2 separate regions of the Homo sapiens genome follow, and region 2 is linked to region 1. Evidence: promoter capture Hi-C in 16 types of primary human blood cells and fetal thymus (Javierre and others, 2016). All regions are on one chromosome and are shown on one strand. Each heading gives the region's core, a stretch centred on a gene start or on the middle of the fragment in contact. The rest is flanking DNA. Distances are from core to core; before and after follow the strand shown. Region 1 holds the start of TMCO2 (transmembrane and coiled-coil domains 2). Region 2 overlaps ZFP69 (ZFP69 zinc finger protein).

Evidence for each region. Contacts are between HindIII fragments. The CHiCAGO score rates a contact against its expected background, and 5 or more counts as called.
Region 2: a fragment that was not itself captured here is called in contact with the fragment with the promoter of TMCO2 in region 1 in 1 of 17 cell types (naive B cells); the score reaches 5.1 in naive B cells.

The regions. Positions count from the first base shown.
Region 1 is chr1:40,244,973-40,252,129 of GRCh38, reverse strand. It overlaps TMCO2 (transmembrane and coiled-coil domains 2), which reads right to left and starts at 4,193. Exons shown (of 2, transcript NM_001008740.4): 1 at 3,900-4,193; 2 at 446-847. The coding sequence starts at 4,136. The coding sequence ends at 536. The HindIII fragment of the contact is 2,069 bases long and covers 4,178-6,246 here.
Region 2 is chr1:40,485,240-40,492,396 of GRCh38, reverse strand. ZFP69 (ZFP69 zinc finger protein) reads right to left here. Exons shown (of 6, transcript NM_001320179.2): 4 at 3,183-3,309; 5 at 2,773-2,868. EXO5-DT (EXO5 divergent transcript) reads left to right here. Exons shown (of 2, transcript NR_187365.1): 2 at 1-1,372. Among named protein-coding and RNA genes, the nearest start is that of ZFP69, 12 kb to the right of the region's middle. The HindIII fragment of the contact is 3,099 bases long and covers 1,806-4,904 here.

The DNA.
Region 1 (7,157 bases), core at 2,944-5,443:
AAAAGTTGGATAAAATTAGTCTCCTTTATGTCAGTCTGTATCTACTCCCACCCTTGCCCACTTTTGAGTAATTAATGCAGGAGACCCCTGGACTGCATATATACCTTTAGGCCAAAGACCAGCACAGGGGTCAGCCTACCTCTAAAGGACAGTCCACTGCAGGGCCCTCAAACAGCACTTTCCTACTTTTTATTATATTTAGTCTAACCTCGTCAGCATGGACCTCAAGGCCATGTACCTGACCACCCTCCCTTCTCTTCCTACAGCCTTAGATTCCAGCCCAGCTATCCTCTCCCATCTATGGCAGCTTATGGTCTCCAGCCTGCTGAGTGTACACCACAATCCTAGAGACATTTTTAACTACCACTATACCCCACTATACCCCACCATCCATACAAGTAGAAGCTCAGCCCTACTAAATAGAGAGCTAGTCTTTGCACGGTAATTTCAATAGCGTTCTCTATCTTTATTGATACACCACTGCACACATGAGGGAAACAGTGCTTTCCTGGAAAAGATTGGAGTCCATCACATTTCAAATGGGGGAAGTAAACCCTGATGTGGACAAGGGACTCTGGCAGTCAGAGCAGCTGCAGTAGGGCTCAGAGGAGCAATCCCTCTTCGTGGCAGGTTTTTGAGCAACGATTATCCCTTCTAGGTTCTTCATTTTGTTTTCCACTGTCTTAAGTTTTTTCAAAATTTTCTCTTGCAGACCCAAGGACAGGAAAAGATTATTATTGTCTTGAATTCGGAGACCACTTCCTTCTGGGTTGGCTAGCAAAGCCTCAAAAATATGTGAGCCCTTCTTGTAAAGTTTGTAGAGTGTGATTACAAACAACAATGTTTTCTAAAATGGAACAACAGAAGTTGAGTGTTAGTTGCTACAGTTTACTATCTATAAGAGAAAAACAAAACAAAAACCTAATAGTAACAATAATTCCTCATTCCAATAACAAGTCTCCCATTTAGCAAATTTTTTTTTTTTTTTTTTTTGAGATGGAGTTTCACTCTGTCACCCAGGCTGGAGTGCTGTGGCGCAATCTCAGCTTACTACAAGCTCCGCCTCCCAGGTTCACGCCATTCTCCTGCCTCAGCCTCCTGAGTAGTTGGGACTACAGGCGCCCACCACCACGCCCGGCTAATTTTTTGTATTTTTAATAGAGACGAGGTTTCACCGTGTTAGCCAGGATGTTCTCAATCTCCTGACCTCGTGATCCGCCCATCGTGGCCTCCCAAAATGCTGGGATTACAGGCGTAAGCCACCATGCCCGGCCTTAGCAAAATATTTTCACACCTATTTCATCTTTTGATTTTCACTGCAAACTGGAGAGGTAGGCAGGTCAGGCAGGATTATTATTTGCATTTAATCAAGATTGTAATAATAGATAACCATTTTCTGAATGTCTGGAAGTAACTTTGCCTTTGCATGATCTATTTATGCAGAAAAAACACAACTGGATAACTATATACCTTCTAGTTTGAACTCTGTCATTGTCCAAGGTTATATATTGGAAGTGGCAGAGCCAGGACAGGAATCCAGAAATTCACACTTCCAAGTACACTTTAGGACATAGTAGTCTGAAAAACTGGATTTCTTGGTCATGGAAAAGGTTTTTAAAATATACTAGGAGAGATCTGGGTACAATGGCACACACATATAGTCCCAGCTACTAGGGAGGGTAAGGTGGGAGGATCACCTGAGCCCAGGAGTAGTGTGCTATGATGGCACCTGTGAATGGCTACTGCACTTCAGCCTGGGCAAGATAGCCAGACCCTGTCTCTTAAAAAAATTAATGTATATATATATATATTTTATTTATATAAAATAAATTATAGGTGTGGACCACTGCATCCAGCACTTTGAGAGGCTGAGATGGGAGGATTGCATGAGGCCAGGAGTTAAAGACCAGCCTGAGCAACATAGTGAACGTAGCGAGACCCTGTCTCTACAAAAAAATTTTTAAAATTAGCCAAGCCTGGTGGTGCATGCCTATGGTTCCAACTGCTCAGGAGGCTGAGGCAGGAGGATCACCTGAGATCAGGAATTTGAGGCTGCAGTGAGCTATGATGACACCACTGCACTCCAGCCTGGGCGACAGAGCAAGACACTGTCTCTAAAACATAAAAAAAAAATAAAAAATAAAAATAAAGCATATGCTGGGCACGGTGGCTCATGCCTGTAATCCCAGCACTTTGGGAGGCCAAGGTGGGCGGATCACCTGAGGTCAGGAGTTCGAGACCAGCCTGGCCAACATGGTGAAACCCTGTCTCTACTTAAAATACAAAACATTAGCTGGGTGTGGTGGTATGCGCCTGTAATCCCAGCTACTCGGGAGGGTGAGGCAGGAGAATTGCTTGAACCTGGGAGGCAGAGGTTGCAGTGAGCCGAAATTGCACCATTGCACTCCAGACTAGGGGACAAGAGCAAGACTTCATCTCAAAATAAATAAATAAATAACAAAAGAATATGTATAGTAGGACAGATTCTTGCTAGGATAAGAAAAAAAATCATCTTGTTCCTTATTATAACAACTAGCACCACTTTTTTTTTTTTTGAGACACAGTCTTTGTCGCCCAGGCTGGAGTGCAGTGGCACGATCTTGGCTCACTGCAACCTCCACCTCCCGGGTTCAAGCAATTCTTCTGCCTCAGCCTCCTGAGTAGCTGGGACTACAGGCGCGTGCCACCACCACACCCGGCTAATTTTTGTATTTTAAGTAGAGATGGGGTTTCACTGTAGCACCACTTATTGAATATATGTGCTAAGATTTACACATACAATATCTTCTTTAATCCTCACAATACACATATATATGCGCATGCGCGTACACACACACACACACACACACACACACACACACACACACACACACATTCCTGTTCAAGATTTAGGTCAGTTGGTTTGCATTAAATGAGATTTTGGAGAAGAACTGAATTTCAAATCCTAAAAATTCGATTCAAACTCCAATTTTGCCAGCTCTTACAAACTATGTGAACTTGGGTGGGTAGCAATCAAGTTCTCTCATCTACAAAATGGAGCAAATAATCTCTCCCTGACTGTTATGCAGGATTGTGATGGTTTAAAATAGAAAGGCCCCGTGACCATGATTACTAAACAATAGTGACATATGAAAATAAGTGAATGCTAAAAAATGATCCAATAACAACTTCTCTCTGCATTTATCAAGTAAACTTGTCACTCTAAGAAAGCCGTTTTAAAAGCCTGTCACCTTAAGTTTCCACTGAACCTCAGTGCACCTCAGTTTCTTCACTTGTCATGTGAAAATAATCTCCATCCATTTCATGGAATTTTTGAGATTCTCAAAGCATTCAACTATATTGTATGTCAACTATTATTATTGGTGACTACACAGAAGTATGTAAAATCCTGTCTCTCACAATCCCAGCCAGTTAAATTCCTACTCCCCAAAGAGCTCCTATATACTTATGGAGCCTTATCTTGTCAAAACACAATAATGAACACATTGTGATGACTTAATACATATGCCTCCTTATCAGTTACAGAACAATGGCATAGTAAGAAAGGCCATACTCATGATCCTAGCTACTTTGGTGCCTATTGTATAAACATAGTAGCACTCAAAGATGAATAAGTGATCAAAAATTTTTGAGGGTAAGGCTGTCTTTTCAGGTTACCAACATGTTTGGTCTATTTTATTACAGAAGACAAGCCAAAGACCATTGTGAGAAAAGCATTTTTATGCCCAAAGCCTAATTGGTGGAGATTTTCAAGGATAACCTAGTTTTTGCCAACTTAAGAGACAAAGGTTCGCCTTTGCACATCTGCATGATCTTAAAACTGGTGGCAGCAATATGGGAGAGAACTAATCAAATTTCAATTTATAACTATATAAATGTTTGTAACAAAAGAGTATAACCTGAATTGACTGAATACTTCGTTTCCATAAGGCATATATTCCTATTCCCAATAAAATCAAGAAAGAAATCCTCAAGATGATTTGCACAGCTGGAGCAAGATTATCTAATAGTCCCAAACTTGTTTGCTGAGGTGCACTAGTCTCTCCCAAAAAACTTGCTTGTATCCAATTCCATACTGTGCTGAGAGAGAGAGACTCTAAGAGGTTGTCCCAGCTAGAAGATGAAGATGTTGACATTTTAATAAGCAGCAGCTCTAGGAACTACATGTGCAGAAGCTTCAGGAATCTAAATATGAGTTAGGGGGAGTAGTCTGGAGGCCTAGGTATTCCAGAGCCATTGTGAGCTGTGCTTTGTGATGTCACTGTTCCAAAGGTCAGCTTGCTTCCCACTCACCCAACCAATGAATCTTACTCAAAACCAACCAGGCACCGGCCTGGGTTTTCAGTTCATTCATATTGCTTTGTCTGATCTTTGGCTAGTTCTGGCTCTAGCATAGTGCTGTCCAGTACAACTTTTTGCAATAATGAAAATGTTCTTTATCTGCCATGTCCAATATGGTAACCACTAGTTACCTGAAATGTGAATAGTGCAGCAGAGATTGCATTTTACATTTTAACTAAATTTGGCTGGGCATGGTGGCTCACGCCTGTAATCCCAGCACTTTGGGAGGCTGAGGCAGGTGGATCACTTGAGCCCAGGAGTTCGAGACCAGCCTGGCCAACATGGTGAAATCTTGTCTCTACTAAAAATACAAAAATTAGCCTGACGTGGTGGTGCACACCTGTAGTCCCAGCTACTTGGGAGGCTGAAGCAGGAGAATCACTTGAACCTGGGAGGCAGAGGTTGCAGTGAGCTGATGTTGTGCTCCAGCCTTGGTGACAGAACGAGACTCCATCTAAAAAAAAAAAAAAAAAAGTTAAATAGCCACCTGTGGCTAGTGGCTTCTCTCTTGGTTAGTGTAGATCTACATTTCCAACAATTCAAATGGACAGCAGCTGTTGCAGCTGTTTTCACATAATAAAAAAAACTGAGTTGTATTGAGGTTGAATGGAAATGTGAGGAGATGGGATTTTTTATTTTTATTTTTTTGAGCTGGCGTGTCACTCTGTCGCCCAGGCTGGAGTGCAGTGGTGCGATCTCAGCTCACTGCAACCTATGCCTCCTAGGTTCAAGCGATTCTCCTGCCTCAGCCTCCTGAGTAGCTGGGATTACAGGCGCCCGCCACCACGCCTGGCTAATTTTTTGTATTTTTAGTAGAGATGGGGTTTCACCATTTTGGCCAGGCTGGTCTAGAATGCCTGACCTCAAGTGATCCACCTGCCCTGGCCTCCCAAAGTGCAGAGATTACAGGCATGAGCCACTGCACCCAGCAAGGAGGTAGGATATAAACAGGGCTTTTTTTTTTTTTTTTTTTTTTTTTTTTTTTTTTTTTTGAGGCGGGGTTTTGGTCTCGCCCTGTCTCCCAGGCTGGAGTGCAGTGGCGCAATCTTGGCTCACTGCAACCTCTGCCTCTGGGGTTCAAGCGATTCTCCTGGCTCAGCCTCCTGAGTAGCTGGGATTACAGGCATGTGCCACCACGCCTGGCTAATTTTTTTATTTTTAGTAGAGACGGGGCTTTACCATGTTGGTTAGGCTGGTCTCGAACTCCTGACCTCGTGATCCACCCGCCTAGGCCTCCCAAAGTGCTGGGATTACAGGCGTGAACCACCACACTCGGCCTTCAGTTTACCTTTAATAGTGGCATCCACCCACTCATCTGTCAGTCACTTCCACTCAGTAGTCTTCCATATCATGCCCTATTAGGACTTACTGACTTAGGCAATGCCTACTTTCAAGCCTTTGGTAAATTCTTTTTTTTTTTTTTTTTGAGACAGGGTCTCGCTCTGTTGCCCAGGCTGGAGTGCAGTGGTGCGATCTCAGCTCATTGCAACCTCTGCCTCCTGGGTTCAAGCGATTCTCCTGCCTCAGCCTCCTGAGTGGCTGGGACTACAGGCACGTGCCACGCCTGGCTGATCTCTGCATTTTTAGTAGAAATGGGGTTTCACCATATTGGCCAGATTGGTCTCGAACTCCTGATCTCAGGTGATCCTCCTACCTTGCCCTCCTAAAGTGCTGGGATTACAGGCATGAGAAATAGCACCCAGTCCGCCTTTGAAAAATTCTTATAGGTTCTTCATTGTCTTTCAAACAAAATCCAAAATCTGTAACATGGCTAACAGGGCACTAAAATGCCTGGTCCCTGCTTACCTACCAAGTCTTCTCTTCCTCTGCCATTTGTTCTTTCAACTCCAGCTATAGTAGTCTTATCAATGTCACCAACACACCAAGCTGTTGAACCACAAAGCTTTGGCACATAATTGGATTACTCTTGTTCTTTGCCTAGCTTCCCCCTCCTCCCCCAGCTTGGAGGTCAATGCCTATTCACAGGTGCGATTATTGCACAGTACAGCCTCTAACTCCTGGGCTCAAGTGATCCTCCTACCTCAGCCTCCCGAGTAGCTGGGACTACAGATTATTGCCTGGCTAACTTCTATTGATTCTTTAGGTTTCAGTTTAAACATTATCCTCAATGAAGCTTTTGCTGTCCTTTTTTGGTCCCCTTCTCATAAGCCCCTCCACCCCCCCTGTTTAAAAGCACTTTTACTTTATTATTTGTACTGTTTTAATGTCTGTCTTCCCTACTGGATTATTTTTTTTGTTGGGGGTGGGGAGGTTGGGGGCACAGGGTCTCACTCTGTTGCCCAGGCTGGAGTGCAGTGGCCTGATCTTGGCTCACCGCAACCTGTGCCTCCTGGGTTCAAGCGGTTCTCCTGCCTCAGCCTCCCTAGTATCTGGGATTACAGGCGCATGCACCACTACAGCGCGGCTAATTTTTGTATTTTTAGTAGAGACAGGGTTTCACCATGTTAGCCAGGCTGGTCTCAAACTCCTGACCTCAAATATCCTCCTGCCTGTGCCTCCCAAAGTGCTGGGATTACAGGCATGAGTCACCGCACCCAGTCCCTTACTGGATTCTTAAATCTCTATGATGCAGGAAATGAGTCTTGTTCAACACCTACCACCCAGGGGCTAGCAGATGGTATATGCTTTGTAAATATTTGGCTTCTTAACCATTTAGATAGCTTTCCTACGCCTCTGGTCTTTTTTTTCAGGTTATACCTGTCAAATACATGCTGACAGATTTTTAAATCTCTTGCCTATCCTGGTTACCTTCCCCAGAGTGAATCAAACCTCCAAATGCAGTCTGTCACAGAAGC
Region 2 (7,157 bases), core at 2,106-4,605, 240 kb before region 1:
TATAAAGAAACTTGACAGGTGACAGAGCAGCATTAACTATTCCTGGACTGATTATCCATGTGGAAAAAGTTAATCAGATTTCCACCTCATACATACAAATTTATTTATATAAAATAAATTCCAGATGAATTAAACCTAAATGTGGAAAGCAAAACTTTGAAAATACAGGAATATGTAAAAACATATATGTATGATCCACATATATGATAAAATGGAGGATAGCAGGGCACAGCAGCATGCACCTGTAGTCCTGCCTCAGCCTCTTTAGTAGGTGAGGTAGCTGAGGCAGAAGAATCACTTGAGCCCAGGAATTCGAGGCCAGCTTGGGCAACATAGCAAGACCCAGTCTCTAAAAACAATTTAAAAAGTTTACAAAAAAGAATAATAAGGCATAAAAGGGTTTCTTAAAAAGCACAAACAATAAAGAAAATCCTGATAAATTCAGTAACATTAAATTTAGAAACTCACGTCTAACAAAAGACACTAATTTTGAAAAGTCAAAGATGGGCCACTGACCTAGAGTAAACATTTGCAAAACATAAAGCTATCAAGGATTATTATCTAGAATGAATATATGTATAATTATACTAGAATGAATATATATATATATACACACACACACACACACACACATACACACACACATTTTTTTCTACCAATCAATAAGAAAAAAAGATTATAGAAACATTGGCAAGGGATATAAACAGGTAATTAACAGAAGAGCCTGGCATTAGAGTAAGGACAGAAGAAGAGATGGATGGATGGTCAATGAACATGAGAAATATACTTCCTTTCACTGGTAATCAGGAAAATGAAAGAAACAAGATACCATAACCCAGTGAATTTACAAAAATCTTAAAGTTTGACAATAACAAATGTTGACAAAGATGCTGAGTTATGGAAACTCTCAAACCCTGTTAATGGGAGAATAACCTGGTGTAACTGCTTTGAAGAGCAAATTGGTAATACCTAGCAAAATGAAAGTGCATATATTCTACAACCCAACAATTTTGCTTCTACCAGCTATCTTAGAGAAACACTTGCATTATGTATACAAGAAGTTATGTACACAAAGGTTTGCTGTAGCATCTTTGTAACTCCCAAATTTGGAAACAATGTAAATGTCTATCAACAGGAAAATGAATAAGAACATTGTGGTTTATTAACTCAATGGATTGAATGAACTAGAATAACATACTGAGGAATATCACCAGTGTTGAATGAGAAAAGCAAAAGGAAGAAGTATATATACCATTTATTTAAAGAAAGAGAACATGCAAAACAATGCTATATATTGTTTAGTATGTATACACTGATATATAGACTGCTTTTACTACATTATACATGTAATAAAAGCACGAAGACATGGGAATAATATTTCAATGCAGAGTGCTTATTTCAAAAGGTGTAAGGGGGACAGTGGAGCTTCAACTGTGTTTCATTTCTTAGTCTAGGTGGAAGCTACACAGAAATGTGTTATAATGTTTTCTATGCCTTTCTGAGTGTCTAAAATATTTCAGAATAAAAAGCAAAGTTTGAGGAGATTGTTAGGGACCCCGACATTTGGTTGAGAAGGAATCCTTTGGTAATTTCTCTTACAGGAGTTTTCATAAGTAGCTGTTACAAAAAAGATACATAAGTTAAAAAGAGAATGAGAATCGAAGCTGGAATTGTAAAATGAACATTGGCAAGAAGTAAAAATGGAGTGCAGGAAAATTAAAGATTTGTAGAATGCAATGGGAGTCTTGGAAAGAGATTGGTTTTCTGTGAAAATACCACATACATTTGACTGCTTAGAGAAAGCTTTAGATTGGCAGCCCTTAGGATACTGGAGAAAGGGAAAATCCAGCTCAACCTTAATGAGGACAAGACTGCTCTTTCCTCCAACTCCAGGGGACTTTTGCAAGGGCTCAGTGAAGGAAAGGGGTAAGGAAGGGACGGGTGATATTAGTTTAGTGGAGGCTCTGTCCAGTGGTCTGAGCCCTCCCCACAGCCGAGGCTTTGAGCACTCTGACCTACATATTAAAATTCCATCTGCCTTGGTGATTTGGTTTGAATATTTATCCCCTCCAAATCTCATGTTGAAATGTGATCCCCAGTGTTGCAGGTGGGGCCTGGTGGGAAGTGTTGGGTCATGGGGGTGGATCACTCATGAATGAGTGTCCTCCCCATGGTAATGAGTTCTCACTCTGAGTTCACATGAGATCTGGTTGTTTAAAAAGCCTGGCACCAGCCTGGCGCAGTGGCTCACACCTGAAATCCCAGCACCTTGGAAGGCCGAGGTGGGCAGATCACAAGGTCGAGATCAAGACCATCCTGGCCAACATGGTGAAACCCTGTCTCTACTAAAAATACAAAAATTAGCTGAGCGTGGTGGCGCATAACTGTAGTCCCAGCTACTCGGGAGGCTGAGGCAGGAGAATCGCTTGAACTCCAGAGGCGGAGGTTGCAGTGAGCCAAGATTGCGCCACTGCACTCCAGCCTGGCGACAGTGCGAGACTCTGTCTCAAAAAAAAAAAAAAAAAAAAAAGAAAAAGAAAAAGAGCCTGGCACCTCCTCCTTCACTCTCATGCTCCAGCTCCCACCATGTGATATGCCTTTCACCATGATTGTAAGTTTCCTGAGGCCCTCACCAGGAGCAGATGCCAGTGCCATGCTTCCTGTACAGCCTGCAGAATCATTAGCCAATTAAACTTCTTTTCTTTATAAATTATGAAGTTTCAGGTATTCCTTTATAGCAACACAAAAACAGACTAACACACTTGGTCTCACCTGAACTGGGATCTCCTGGGCCTTCTTTCTCTGCCATCCATGGCTCTTCTCCTTTCTCTAACTGGGATATCACACTAGGTTTGGAAAGTTGATATCCTGCTTATGTAGTAAAAAAAACAGTGTGAATGTTTATGCTGATGTCTAAGAACCATCCTCAGAATTTTGAGTCTTCTGGTATTCAGGGTCTCCACAAGTGGAAAGGGGTGGGTCTTTCTATCCTAACTATGTGTAGTAAAGTTGTTCCCCAAGAAAGTCAAATTGGATATGCCCTCACTTGGTTTTCAAAGGGAATAAGACATCTTTAATACAGAACCCAAATCAAGCCTCAAGGAATCTACACATCAATAATTTAAAATAATGACTCTCCTGTAATGGGTGGGTTTCTGGATGCATGGATAGCCAAGTCTTACCCACTGACACCAAGTTGCTGTAGTTCTCCAGCATCACCTCTCGGTATAGATTCTGGTGAGCAGGAGCCAGCTGCCCCCACTCTTCCTGGGTGAAGTCAATAGATATGTCCTTGAAAGTCAACAATTCCTAGAACATCAAATACATTCATTTTTAGCCGGAGACCACCTCTGTTAAGTTCCAAGGAGTTCTGACAGTATTCTAAATTCTGAGAGATTCTAAACTTACTTTTATCAGGAGCCTTCTCTGGATCTGTTTGGAGATCCTCTGATCTCCAAATCTGATCAACAAAACTGTCTGGAACTGTAGTCTGTCTGGATCTCTAATCTGGAGATTACTATAAATAATGTAATATATAGAAAGACAGATGGTGATACATACCTTAGAAAAAAATTAAGCAGGATAAGAGACATTGGGAGAACCACAGTGAGGGTAGGATGATCTTTTATGTAAAGTGGTTGGGGAAGACTCTCTAAAAGGGTGATGTTTGACCGGAGACATAAATTCAGTAAAGGGAAGAACCACATGGAAATCTGAGAGAAGAGCATCCTGGGCAGGTGCAAAGGACCTAAGGTGACAGTGTCCTTGGCTTGAGGAACAGGAAAGTGAACAGCATGGCTGGAGGTAGGCTGGTTGATGAGAGAGTGGAAAGAAATGAAATCAAGAGAGGTGGAGATGAGGAACAGGGTGGGATAGGGGTTCCCCCACCACCTCACGCACTTATTGTCACAAAGACCTGTGCATTCTTACTGAACTTGAATTCTGAGGCCCTGCTGGAGTTTAATGCAAAAATGAACAAAACTGTCTGGAACTGTAGTCTAATCCCTTCCTAAGCTCAAATGCCAAAAAGATAAAAAGAAAAGCCCTCAGCAATTGTGGCATGGGCTAATCAGAAGTATACTCAATCAAATTAAAGCTGCATGATAGCCAGAGCTCAGCCACAGCTCTAGGAGGAGCCCCTCACCTTAACCACCAGAGAGACGAAAGGGTTTGGAAATAGAACAAATCAAAACACATGAATAAACTATGTGTGTGTGTGTGTGTGTATACATACAAAACACACACATGTATGTATGTATATACACATGCACTCCTGCCTTGGCCCCTCAAAGTGTTCGCATTACAGGCATGAGACACCGTGCCCGGCTTAGAGATCACTTTTTTTTTTTTTTTTTTGAGACAGAGTCTCACCCTGTTGTCCAGGCTGGAGTGCAGTGGTGCGAGCTCAGCTCACTGCCACCTCCCGGGTTCAAGTGATTCTCCTGCCTCAGCCTCCCAGGTAGCTGGTATTACAGGCGCACGCCACCACGCCCAGCTAATTTTTGTATTTTTAGTAGAGACCGGGTTTCACCATGTTGGTCAGACTGGTCTCGAACTCCTGGCCTCAGGTGATTCGCCCACCTCAGCCTCCTGAAGTGCTGGGATTACAGGCGTGAGCCACCGCGCCCGGCCTGAGAGATCACTTTTTACTGTGATATGCAATTTACCGGAGAGATGAAGTGCTAATGCAGAGATGCTTAGCATCACACTGAATTTTAAGTAAATACTTGAAACACCTGAGCGCACTACAATAGCCACAGGAGATAGCTATAAAATTATCATACTAATACACTAGGTGTACTATAGTTTATTTTATGCAGTAGTGATTTAATACTGCATCTTTACATTTGTTTACATTTCTCTCAACTGAGAATGGCACCATGAATAGTCTGTGCACATAAGCTTTGAAAATTTTTAACTTTTTATAATAGATACGTGTATCTCTTATGGTAGTAAATGATAAAATAGACTAGTACCTACATATATTTTATGTATTCATAACATACCTAACTTTTTCTTAATTTTTTTGATACTCCTAGGCTACATGGTCCATCTGCAAGTTTTTTCAAATTGTCACAAATCTCCAAAAAATGTTTCAATATATTTATTGAAAAAAGTCTATATAGAAGTGGACCTGCACAGTTCAAACCTGCGCTGCTCAAGAATCAACTGTAGGCCGGGCGCAGTGGCTCATGCCTGTAATCCCAGCACTTTGGGAGGCTGATGCGGGCGGATCATGAGGTCAAGATATCAAGACCATCCTGGCCAACATGGTGAAACCCTGTCTCTACTAAAAATACAAAAATTAGCTGGGCATGGTGGTGCATGCCTGTAGTCCCAGCTACTCGGAAGGCTGAGGCAGAAGAATCACTTGAACCCGGGAGGCGGAGGTTGCAGTGAGCCGAGATCTCGCCACTGCACTCCAGCCTGGTGACAGAGCAAGACTCCATCTTAAAAAAAAAAAAAAAAAATCAACTGTAAATGAAAATTCTACAAGTGAAAAAGACAATATCTAAAAATTCATTGGATGGGCTTAAAGTAGATTAGACCATGATGAGATAAGATCAGTGAAACTTAAGATGGGTCAATAAATATTATTCAAACTAGAGTACCAAGAGAAAAAAATCTGTGGGATAATATCAAGTGGTCTATTATACATGTAATTAGAATCTCAGGGCTAGGTGGGATGGCTCCTGCCTGTAATCCTAGCACTTTGGAAGGCCAAGGCAGGAGGACTGCTTGAGCTCAAGAGTTTGAGACCAGCCTAGGCAACATAGGAAGACCCTGTCTCTACAAAAAAAAATACAAAAATTAGCCAGGCATGGTGGCGCACACTTGTAGCCCCAGCTGCTCAGGAGGCTGAGGCAGGAGGATCACTTAAGCCTGAGAGGTAGTGGTGGGAGGGAGGGAGGGAGGGAGGAAGAAAGGAGGGAGGGAGGGATGGAGGGAGGGAGGAAGGGAAGGAAGGAAGGAAGGGAGGGAGGGAGGAAAGGAGGGAGGAAGGGAGGAAGGGAAGCAGGGAGGGAGAAAGAGCAATCTCAGAAGAGGGAATAGGTAGAAAAAATATTTGAAAAATAATGGCTGAAGATTTTCCAAACTAATAGGAAAAAAAATCAACCCACAGATCCAAGAAGCTCAGCAAACCCCAAAAAGGATAAACTCAAAAATCACAGCAAGGCACAGTGGCTCATGCCTGTAATCCCAGCACTTTGGGAGGCTATGGTGGCAGATCACTTGAGGTCAGGAGTTTGAGACCAGCCTGGCCAACATGGTGAAACCCCATCTCTACTAAAAATACACAAAATAAAAAATAAAATAAAATAAAATAAGGCGGGTGTGGTAGTTTACATCTGTTATCCTAGCTACTTGAGAGGCTGATGTGAGAGGATTGCTTGAACCCAGGAGGTGGAGGTTGCAGTGGGCCAAGATCATGCCACTGCACTCCTGCCTGGGTGACAGAGCAAGACTCCGTCTCAAAAAACAACAACAACAACAACAAATCACACCTATGCACATCAGATAAAAGTTGATATAAAACAGATACATCACATAAAAAGAATAACACCTGCCTTCTCATCACAGATAATACAATCTAAAAGATAATGGAACATTTTTAAACTACTTAAAGAAAAAGCAGTCAACCTAGAATTCTTTATCCAATAAGATCCTCAAATAGGAAGATAATATAAAGAAATGTTTAGATCAATAAAAGTGAGAATTTGTCACCAGAACACCCACATTATAAGAAATGCTAAACAAAGTTCTTTAAGCTGAAGGGAAATGATGCAAGATAGAAACCTGGAATGAAAGGGAAAAAGGAAGAGTGCCTAAATGGATAAATATGAGGGCAAATAAGAAAGACATGTTTTTTTCCATTTTCATAATTTGTTATAAGACAGTTTACTATTAAAAGCAAAATTAAGAACAATATACTGTGGTGTTTTTACATGTAAAACAAAATGTATATTGACAACACACTAAGAGTGGGAAGGAGTATATGAAAATATAACGTAAGTCTTTCATATGATATGTGAAGCCATAAAACATTAATTCAAAGTAACTGTGGAATGTTACTTTTGTAACATGTGTAATGTTAAATACATTTGTAACATTCCACAGTTACTTTGAATTAATATTATATGGCCTCACATATAATA